Linked DNA regions of Homo sapiens: region 2 is linked to region 1. Evidence: promoter capture Hi-C in human tissues and cell types (Jung and others, 2019). All regions are on one chromosome and are shown on one strand. Each heading gives the region's core, a stretch centred on a gene start or on the middle of the fragment in contact. The rest is flanking DNA. Distances are from core to core; before and after follow the strand shown.

Region 1 (4,904 bases), core at 1,060-3,559:
AGAGCCAAAGCAACAATTGTCCATTGTAGCCTTTTGGGGAGAGATTCCATGGTGAATGCCTAACTTTTGGCCCACAATATTAATGTCCAAGAGCTTTTACACTTCCACAACTCTTCTCCTGACTTTGTCAAAAGATGCAGTCTAGTTGGCAGTGAACTTTCTCTGGCTGGGATATGGCTCAAAGACTACCCCAGCATTGTCTCTTGCATTAAGGTATCATTTAGCCTGAGATGGCTAAGCTTGCAATCTCCAGACTCCACGCTGTCATAAACTTTCAGATCCTCAACCAGGAACTTACATGGAATGAGCTGGCCCTGGAGGTCAGCTGGAAGATGGCCAAATTCCTCTGAATCACCAGCTATTTTGAATCAAAGGCTCATCCAACAACAAAAGTGTATAAACCCATCTGCCTCCGCCTTCTTCCAGTCACCCCCAGTCTCACTGTCCAGACCTGTGGGATTAACACCGTATAGTACTTGCTGTTAACACTTACTATCCACTAACACCCGTGGAATGTGGACACTGCTAAGCTGGGAGATGATGCTTGTGCAATAGTTTGTATTACCCTTTTGGCAAAGGACCACTCCAAGAAAATGGTGTATTTCATCCCATCAGCATTCCCCCTGGCAAAGCTCTCCACCCTTAGTCATTCCCCTCTTGTCATTTCTACTGTGGCTATCAATGAGATCTTGTGCCTCCATTAGAATACTGAGCTAGCATTTGATATTTGACCTCACTCCAAGGTGTGTATTCTGGGTTTCTGTTGTTGATTTTCTTTTTAAAAAAATGAGTGCAATTCAAAGTTCTTAAAGTATATCTGTTTCCTGCTTCCAACAACTGACAGATAACAAAATGGAATATACAAAGACATTTTTAATTTATAATGTATATTAAACATTATTATACATATACAACTTACAAGGGTTGCTTCTGGCTGGATTCTCTGCCAATCGCCCGAACACTGAGGATTCTGCTAGTTGTTCTGCCCTGAGTTAATTATAGCTATAAAATTTCATCACCAGCAAGAAACCAGGCGACTTCCCCAGTACATCTTGAATTTATACATATATTTTGTACTAGATTTAGTACAAAATAAATCCAAAACATCTTGAATATGCCTCATAATGAAACAGACACACGTGAACCCACTCCCACGTGAGAAACTGAGGATGTGTCTATGTGCTCCTTCCCTGCCTCTCCCTCCCCCTCTTGTGTGCTACCCTCCCGGCTCCCTAAAGATCACCAATATCCTGATTCTTTTTTATTTTTTTTTCTCATGTCTTGCCTTCTCTGTACAGTATTTTACCATATATGTACGTTTCTCTAAACAACATTAGTTTTACTTGGTTTGAACTTTACAAAAGTGTTGTTAGACTTCCTTCTTTCACTGAACATCGTGTTTCTGAGATTCAGCCATTGATGCTGCTACCTGGTAGCTCTAGTTCATTTATGATCGCTGCTACATGGCTTCCTATTGTATTACTTTTCCACACACTACTTCCCTCACTACATTTCTTTTCTTTCTTTCTTTTATTTATTTGTTTATTTATTTTTTTGAGACGGAGTCTCGCTCTGTCGCTCAGGACGGAATGCAGTGGCGCCACATGGGCTTACTGCAACCTCCGCCTCCCGGGTTCAAGCGATTCTCCTGCCTCAGCCTCCTGAGTAGCCAGGACTAAGGCGGCCGCCACCACGCCCGGCTAATTTTTGTACTTTTAGTAACAACGGTGTTTCACCATGTTGGCCAGGCTGGTCTCGAACTCCTGACCTCAGGTGATCGGCCCGCCTCGGCTTCCCACAGTGGTGGGATTACAGGAGTGAGCCACTACGCCCGCCCCCCTCACTACATTTCGAAGGCAATTTTGGGGGCAAAGCCCTCAGCACAGTCGCTGGCAGAGTCAGCACACAACAAAATTTTGTAAAATTGAATGACACTGAGCCCGGACTGAATGTAACAACTTACACATGTTGCTTCTGGCTGGATTCTCTGCCCTTTGCCCGAACGCTGAGGATTCTGCTAGCTGTTCCGCCCTGAGTTAATTATAGCTATAAAATTTCGCGACCAGCAAGCAGAAACCGGGCGACTTCTCCAGACACCTAAGACTACGCTTCCCAGAAAGGATTGCGATACTCTCCTACTGTTTAGTTTCTTTTTCCTATCGTCAAATTTCCGGGTTATGTGGGCGGTGCCAAAATAATTATCCAATGAGCAACTTCGTAGGCTGAGCGGGCAGGAGAATTGCTCAATGAGCGACTCGGAAGAGGAGCCAATAAGCGGAGAGGTTGCTGGGGTAGCCGGCGTGGGCGGCGTCACTGAGCCGCGCCAGCTGAGCCAGGTAGGGCCCTACCCTCTTCTGTTGCTTTCTCCCTGTGGCTCGCGCCGTCCCCCGCCGCCCGTCGACCCCGCTTCCATGTCCCTGGCGGACACAGCTCCCAGGAACCTCCACGCCCATGGCCACTAGGCAGAGGGAATCCTCTATCACCTCCTGCTGTTCCACCTCGAGCTGCGACGCAGACGACGAGGGCGTGCGCGGCACCTGCGAAGATGCTTCCCTGTGCAAGAGGTGCCTGTCGGGCGCGGGGTTCGGGGCCGGCATCTGGGGCGCGGGCCTAGGTGGGAGGTGGGCCTGCATCTGAAGAATACGCTCAAGGCTGGCAGGGATGCAGCCCCCGCCTCGCACGACCCTCGCTTCCCACCTGTGAAGTGCACGGAGCAGGGCTTCATTTATTTAACGAATCGTTTCTGAGCTTTTGCTGTGAGCCAGGCAGGGGGCCAGCCTGGGTATCGTCGATGGGAGCAGGCCCCTGAGCCAGACAGACGAGGCCTTGGGCTTCTTGGAGCTAAACGCTGCTGGAAAGACAGACATGAAGCAAATAGTAGCTCCAGCCTCGATGGGTTACGAGGATGAGAGGTGTAGGTTCTCTCTCTTTTGTAGGTTGCATTCTTTAGGGGGTTGGTGTGATCCCTGTTGTGCACCTGAAACTCAGGATGACGAGGGGAAATAACCCACCCAGAGCCAAGTAATATCTCTTTGCAGAGCCAGTACCGCACTAAGTCTCCACTGTTAAGGGTGTGGTGGTGGGGATGGGGGCGTAGCCAGCAGAGGTACGTGTCAGAGAAAGAGAAAGCTTGAGGCTTGAATGTCCACCATTTATTCTTTCATTCAACAAAATTTTTTGAGACCTTACTTTGTGCCAGGCCTTTACTTTGCAGTGGTTAGTAGGAATTCGATGGTGGAAATACACCAAGAACAAGACAGACATGGTGTCAGACATACTGGAACTCACAGCTTTGTTGGAAAAGAGAGACAGGAAGCAAATAATTACCTATGAAATATATAATTATGATTTTTTTGTGTTGAGTGCTGACAAATACGGCAGTGCCATTAGAGTTTGTAATTTTGTCAGTGATGTTTAAGGTGAGAAGAGTTTGGGCGCGGTGGTTCACGCCTGTAATCCCAGCACTTTGGGAGGCCGAGGTGGGCAGATCACGAGGTCAGGAGTTCGAGACCATCCTGGCCAACATGGTGAAACCCCATCTCTACTAAAAATACAAATATTAGCTGGGTGTGGTGGCGGGCGCCTGTAATCCCAGCTACTCGGGAGGCTGAGGCCGGAGAATCATTTGAACCCGGGAGGCAGAGGTTGCAGTGAGCCAAGATCACGCTATTGCACTCCAACCTGGATGAGAGTGCGAGACTATGTCTCAAAAAAAAAAAAAAAAAAAAGTGAGAAGAAAAGGCTTGAAAAATAGGAAAGTTGTAGGAGAGTGTTCAGAGGAGTGTGAACTGTTAGAGGAACTCAAAAAATGCTTTAAAGGTGGGAGAAGGAGGCTGAGGCCACGTAGTGATTGTAGAGTGGGGAAAACCAGTGTGTTGGATTAAACCTTGCACTTTTTATAGGTTCTTGGGGACTAAACTTTCAGAGCATGGATTCTGGAGCTAGACTCTGTCAAACTGAGCGTTGCCACTTACTGGCAGTATAAAGTCGGGGAAATTACTAAACTTTTCTGTGGCTCAGTTTCCTGATCTGTAAAATGGGGAGTATAATAACGCATCATAGGTGGGTGTGGACAAAAATGATATTTAATATTAGTAGAGCACTTGGAGCAGTGTCTGGCATGTAGTCCATGTAAGTGGTGATTGATTAAATTAATAAATACACAAGTATTAAAGTCTTAGAGAGAGTCCCTTATGAAATTTGTGAATTTGAGTGGATTATACTCAGCTTTTTCTTCTGTGGCTTTCAGTTGCTATTGGCCACAGCTGTCTTGGCTCCTGGTAACTTCCACCTGCCGGGTTCAAGTGATTCTCCTGCCTCAACCTTCCAAGTAGCTGGGATCACAGGCACACACCACCATGCCCAGCTAATTTTTGCATTTTTAGTGGAGACAGGGCTTCACCACGTTGGCCAGGCTAGTTTCGAACTCCTGAACTCAAGTGATCCGCTCGCCTTGGTCTCCCAAAGTGCTGGGATTACAGGCATGAGCCACCCCACCCAGCCTAGTCTTTTCATTTTTAAAACAGTGATAATAAAGGTAACCTTTATGGGTGTCAGGATTAAATGAGATTATCGATGCAGAGGATCTGACACAAAGTGAAGCCCTCAGTAAATTATTATTGCTAGTTTTGACTTCCCTCCAGGCTGAATATTGTTTAGTTAAAGTTGCTGAATGTGCAGTAGCTATGAGTTAGGGTGGTTCCTGCTGCCCTGAGTGAGTTATGGCTATAAAATAAAAAGCCAGTCAGCCTTCTGGGTACCTGTAAATCTTTTACTTCTGTTTAGTTTGCTTCTTCCTTTGGTATAGAGTCCTTCTGCGGATAAGTAGGATGTTATCTGTCTCAGAGGATTGCTGTGCAGGTGAAATGTGGAGTGCTTGCAGCAGTGCTTGGCATACTGGAGGT
Region 2 (5,562 bases), core at 1,956-4,455, 790 kb before region 1:
TCAGTTGAGCCTGGGAGGTTGAGGCTGCAGTGAGCCATAATTGAGCCACTACATTCAGCCTGGGCCACAGAGCAGGACTCAAAAAAAAAAAAAAAAAAAAAGAGAGAGAGAGAAAGAGAGAGATGAGGCCTTCCATATGGACATCTTTCTGGGTCATCAGATGGTCAGAACTTCCTCATTCTTTATGATTGCTGCCTATACTAGACCCTAGCATGGATGTATCTTAGTGAATCTAATCCTTCCCCTAATAAAGATTATCTAAGATGTTCCCAAGCTTTTTGATTTTTACAATGGCCTTTTAATACTCATAGCAGTCTTTTGAGGATAGCAGCATTACACCTATTTTAAACAAAGAAAACTGAAGCTCAGAGTGGTTGAATAACTAGCTCAAGGATGCAGTTACTAGGGGGTAGTACCAGGATGCAATCCCAGGTCGGTTTGACTTCATGTTGATATAAAGCAGTTGATACTGAGGTTGGATCACAGCAACGCTCAGTAAGTCAAGATCATCATTCCCACAGGTTGATACTAATAAATATAATAGACAAATGGAGTCATTACCTTTGCCTGGAAGGGCAGAGGGAAGAAGAATAAAACTTACTTAGCACTCAGAATGTGTCCAGCACCTTACCAGATGTCCTTCTTTTTGAGGCAGAGTGTCACTGTGGCCCAGGATGGAGGGCAGTGGAGTGATCTCAGCTCACTGCAACCTCCACCTCCCAGGTTCAAGCGATTCTTCTGCCTCAGTCTCCCGATGAGCTGGGATTACAGGTGCACACCACCACACCAGGCTAATTTGTTTATTTTTAGTTGAGATGGGGTTTCACCATGTTGACCAGGCTGGTCTCGAATTCCTGACCTCAGGAACTCCTGATCTGCCTGCCTCGGCCTCCTAAAGTGTTGGGATTACAGACGTGAGACAATGTACCCAGCCACTAGATTTCTTATATACATTTTTTATTGAATTCTCAAAGAGCCAGACAACAATAAAGCCTGTTAGAAAGACACTGCCATCCCTGTGTATAAAAAGCTGAAGTTCAATAAAGGTAAAGGTCCCAATGTCACACAGCAAGTGGTGGATCTGGGATTTGAACCCGCATCTGCCTTGCTTGTATTTCTAGTGGATACAGAATTCAGCCCACAAACCCAGGTGTGTGTGAATATAACTATTTTTCTGCAAGTGAACTTCATTTCTTAATTTCCTTGCTAAATCTGCCTCTTGCCTAGTTTTTCCACCTCATCTCCTAGTACCACTACTTACCCCAGCCATACACAGGCAAAAAGCATAGACATCACTGGTGCCTGTTTCCCCCACTCCCCAGACCCAACACACCAAGTCTCATTGGCTCTGCCTTCAAAAATATCATCGTAGCCAAAGGCAACAGCTTCTCCCACTTCCCCAGCTGCCAGTTTAGCTCAAATCACCATTGCCCCCACCCCAGATCATTCTCCATCTGGCAGCCTGAGGGACCATTTACAAAATGCATATCCTATCATATCACTCTCCTGCTTAATCCCTGAAAGCCCCATTGCCCTTGGAATAAATGCTCCTCAGTGGCCCATGTGCTCTCCCTCCTGTGGTCTCAGCCTTCTCTCAGCTTTTCTCTCCTTCTCCCTCTACTCTGCTGTTCCCTACTGGGTCTCTTCTGTTCCTCCATGCCCCAGCTTATGCTACTACAAGGCCAGCCCTTCCTCTTCCCTCTGCCTGCACTGCTTGCCCTGATTTGCAAGGGGGCTGTTTCTTTCCGCTTTCAACTCTCAGGCCACACAGCTCTCTCAAAGACCTCCTCCCTGCCTCATCACCCTGGGTCACTCTGAGCCCCTTATGTTGAGGGTCTTTTTAGCTCTGATTGCTGTTGGAAGTCATTTGTTCCATTGTCCTCCCCATCCCCTTTGAAGAACCAAGAGTGCTCTATGTCATGCCTGCGGAGCCACAGTGCCTGTAGAGATGCCAGGCACAGGGCAGATATTTACTGAGTGAAATGAATGAATGAATTTATGTTATGAGTTCTGTGTCTACTGGGGGAAGAGGGCAGGAATTTAATATCAGCCAATTCTTTAATCTTAGCCAATTCCTTCCCTTGAGGGGTGTCTAAATTCTGGGGGACAGCAGAGGTGGGTACATGTGGTCTGGATCATTGATCCATGACAGCATCTGCTGAGATGTTCTCATTCCCTGGGACAAAAGAAACATCATCAGGTACATGGGAACAAGGGTTAGGGGGACGTCAGTTAACATTCAGCAGAGTCACCCACCACCAACCTTTAGCCCACTCTATTCTCCCACACTCCTGAGATCAGAAACACTCGGGACCCTGGGAGCTCCCTTTCCCAAGTCCTAGGAGCCAGACCCCAGTGCTGGCGTACATCAGCTGGAATGCATTGCTGAGCGCAAGCCCCGCCAACCCCAGCGAGCTCTGCGGCTGGGAGAAGGTGCCCAGTACTGTTATGCAGCACGGGCTGGTGATTCACAGTTTATGAGCCGCCTCATACCCATCACTTTGATGCTCACAACAAGCCCGACAGGTAGGAAAAGTAGAGTTTATGAGCTTCTTTTCACAACTGTGGAAACCAAGATCACAAATGGTAATAATGTGAGTTGCTCAGGTTTGCAGAGCAGGCATGGAGGCAAAGCTGGGACTGGGAGACTATTACATGGTTAGAGCTTAATAAATGGTAGGTGCTGCTGTTCCAAACAGGTGAGGACTCTCAGTTTGTGAGGACTCTCAGTTGCAAAGTACAGAAATCCATTTCAAATAAGCGTAAGCAGCCACATAAGCTATTGGCTGATGGAACTGAAATACCCAAGGTTTACCTGTTTCAAGCATGGCTGGAGCCAGGGACTCAAATGATATTAGCAAGATTCAGATGGTCAACACCTCTCAGCTCTATTCTGAAATCTCTGCCTTGATTTCACCCTCAAGCTTGCTGTCTCCAACGTGGGGGGGTTGGGGGCTTGGCAACTGTAGCCCCAGCCCACTAGCTTAGCCACTCAATGGAAAATAACATTTTTCTTTTTTGTTTTTTCTTTTTTCTTTTTTTTTTTTTTGAGATGGAGTTTCGCTCTTGTTGCCCAGACTAGAGTGCAATGGCACAACCTCTGCTCACCACAACCTCCGCCTCCTAGGTTCAAGCAATTTTCCTCCCTCAGCCTCCCGAGTAGCTGGGATTACAGGCATGCGCCAGTAGGCCCGGCTCATTTTGTATTTTTAGTAGAGACAGGGTTTCTCCATGTTGGTCAGGATGGTCTCGAATTCCCGACCTCAGGTGATCCGCCCGCCTCGGCCTCCCAAAGTGCTGGGATTACAGGCATGAGCCACCACACCCGGCCAAAATTTTTCTTTCTCAACATTTCTAACCAATGTTCCAAGACTATCTTCACTGGACAAACTTGGTCACTTGCCCTCCCCTGAACCAATCACGCCAATCAAGGTGGTGAGACATGTTGATTGGCCAGATCTGGGTCATGTGCTCACCCTCTTAGCCAACCACTGTAGCCAGGAGAATTTAGAATTCTGATTGGCCAGGACTGAATCACATGCCCACTTCTGAAACTGACAATGGAGTCACCCTATGCTCACCTCACTCTCTGCACAGGCTGAAGAGGGAGAGAAGGCATTCCCTACAGTGGAATGAAGGTAGCCTTACCAGTGGAAGGGAGAATGGAAGCTCCTCTGGCAGCTAGAACAGATGTTCCCTCCAGATGCCTGGTACAGACCAGTAACCTTAGCCCCTTGACCAGAGAAACACGCCATGATCTCGCTCCCCTGCCACCTGATCCTGAACCAGTCTAGCTAATGACGCTAACTGGAGGCTCCAGGCTCGAGGCTCAGGCCAGAAACAGAGGCTGGCCTCTCCCTGCTAATGGCAGCAGGTGATGGGGATGAAGGAGGTGGCGGTAAATGTGATGGTAGCCTGGCTTCCTCCTCATGCAGAGAGGTGGAGTCCTAAGTCTCTAAGGAGTGGCCAAGGCAGGGGCTCCAAACCAAAAAAAAAAAAAAAAAAAAAAAAAAAGCCATAGCAATGAGAGAAGGAAGAGGAAAAGAAGACTTGGGCTCAGAGAGGCTCTGGAATAAAAGGAGAGTCTCAGGCAGTGAAGAGATGCCAATAAACAAAGCTTAAAGGACAGTTCATCCAGGCTGGGTGCTGTGACTGATGCCTGTAATCCCAGCACTTTGGGAGGGCAAAGTGAGAGGATCACTTGAGCCCTCACTTCGAACTCCTCACCAGGAGTTCGAAAGCAGCCTGGGCAAAATAAGAACTTGTTTCTACGAATATATATATGTGTGTGTGTGTGTGTATATATATATATATATACACACACACACACACACACACATATACTATGAATATATACATATATATATATATGGGGGGGCTGAGGTTGGGGGGATCGTTTGAGCTCAGGAGTTAAAGGATGCAGTGAGCTATGATTGTACCGCTGCACTCCAGCCTCAGTGACATAGTGAGAACCTGTCTCAAAAAAAACAAAAACAAAACAAAACAAAACAAAAAAAACAGGCCGGGTGCAGTGGCTCATGCCTGTAATCCCAATGCTTTGGGGGGCTGAGACAGGAGGATCGCTTGAGGCCAAGAGTTCAAGGCCAGCCTGGGCAACATAGTGAGACCACATCTCTACAAAAAATGAAAACAGTAATGGAGCATAGTGGTGAGCAACTGTAGTCCCAGCTACATGGGAGGCTGAGGCAGGAAAATCACTTGAGCCCAGGAGTTTGAGGCTGCAGTGAGCTATGATCATGCCACTGCACTCCTGAGTGTCACAGAAAGACCTTGTCTCAGACAACAAACAAAGTAAAAACAATTCAGACATGAAGGAAATACGCAGTACTCATCCCATACATTCATTTGTCCACTTGTTTATTTAACAACCTACTATGTGCCAGGTCCTGGGAAGACAGTGGTGAGCAAGACAGAGATGCTCTTGGGATTTACAATAGAGAGGAATAAACAGACACATCATTAAACTCATAATTAATCCTTTGTAATATGTGCCTGAAAGAGAAGCACAGGGTGTGGTGCTGTGAGGGCAGATTATTGGATGGCATCAGCCTGGGGACATATTTTTGGTAAGATCTGAAGCCCAGATAGAAATTACTCAAATGCAGGATGGAGAGGGAGAAATAATTGAGGCTGAGGGTGCTCGTGCAAAGGCCCTGAGGCAGGAAAGATAAAACAAAGCCTGTGCAGCAGAAATTTGGTGAGAAAGATCTGGAGAGGGGCTGGGGCCACATCACAGAGGATCTCGTAGGCCAGGTTAAGGACTTTTGTCACCATCCAACAAGAAGTTGCCCAAGATACCTGCAGACATATACAAAGGACAGTCTGATGTTCAGGGCACAGTTATAAAGCACCTACTGTGTATCAGATTGGGTGCAGGATATTTGGGATTCAGTGGTGCTTATAGTCTAGGAAATAAGAAGTCAGAAAATAAACTAGGCAATAAATATAAACAAGATATTTCGCATACTCACGGATCATCGTAAGCTTAGCAAAGAAAGTGACTGGAGATGTTCAAGTGAGGTGAGGACCTGACGGCCCCGT

The links. The method cuts DNA at HindIII sites, captures the fragments that hold promoters and counts their contacts. A contact is called where the count stands out against the background at its distance.
Region 2: a contact is called between a fragment that was not itself captured here and the fragment with the promoter of LCMT1 in region 1, in 1 of the 25 tissues and cell types used here (mesenchymal stem cells).

The regions. Positions count from the first base shown.
Region 1 is chr16:25,109,433-25,114,336 of GRCh38, forward strand. LCMT1 (leucine carboxyl methyltransferase 1) reads left to right here and starts at 2,310. Exons shown (of 11, transcript NM_016309.3): 1 at 2,310-2,564. The coding sequence starts at 2,452. LCMT1-AS1 (LCMT1 antisense RNA 1) reads right to left here and starts at 2,123. Exons shown (of 3, transcript NR_120306.1): 1 at 1,964-2,123. RefSeq lists enhancers at 1,733-2,260, 2,038-2,367, 2,458-2,617. The HindIII fragment of the contact is 11,844 bases long and covers 1-4,904 here.
Region 2 is chr16:24,323,140-24,328,701 of GRCh38, forward strand. All of the region lies in intron 1 of CACNG3 (calcium voltage-gated channel auxiliary subunit gamma 3), which reads left to right. Among named protein-coding and RNA genes, the nearest start is that of CACNG3, 70 kb to the left of the region's middle. The HindIII fragment of the contact is 3,212 bases long and covers 1,600-4,811 here.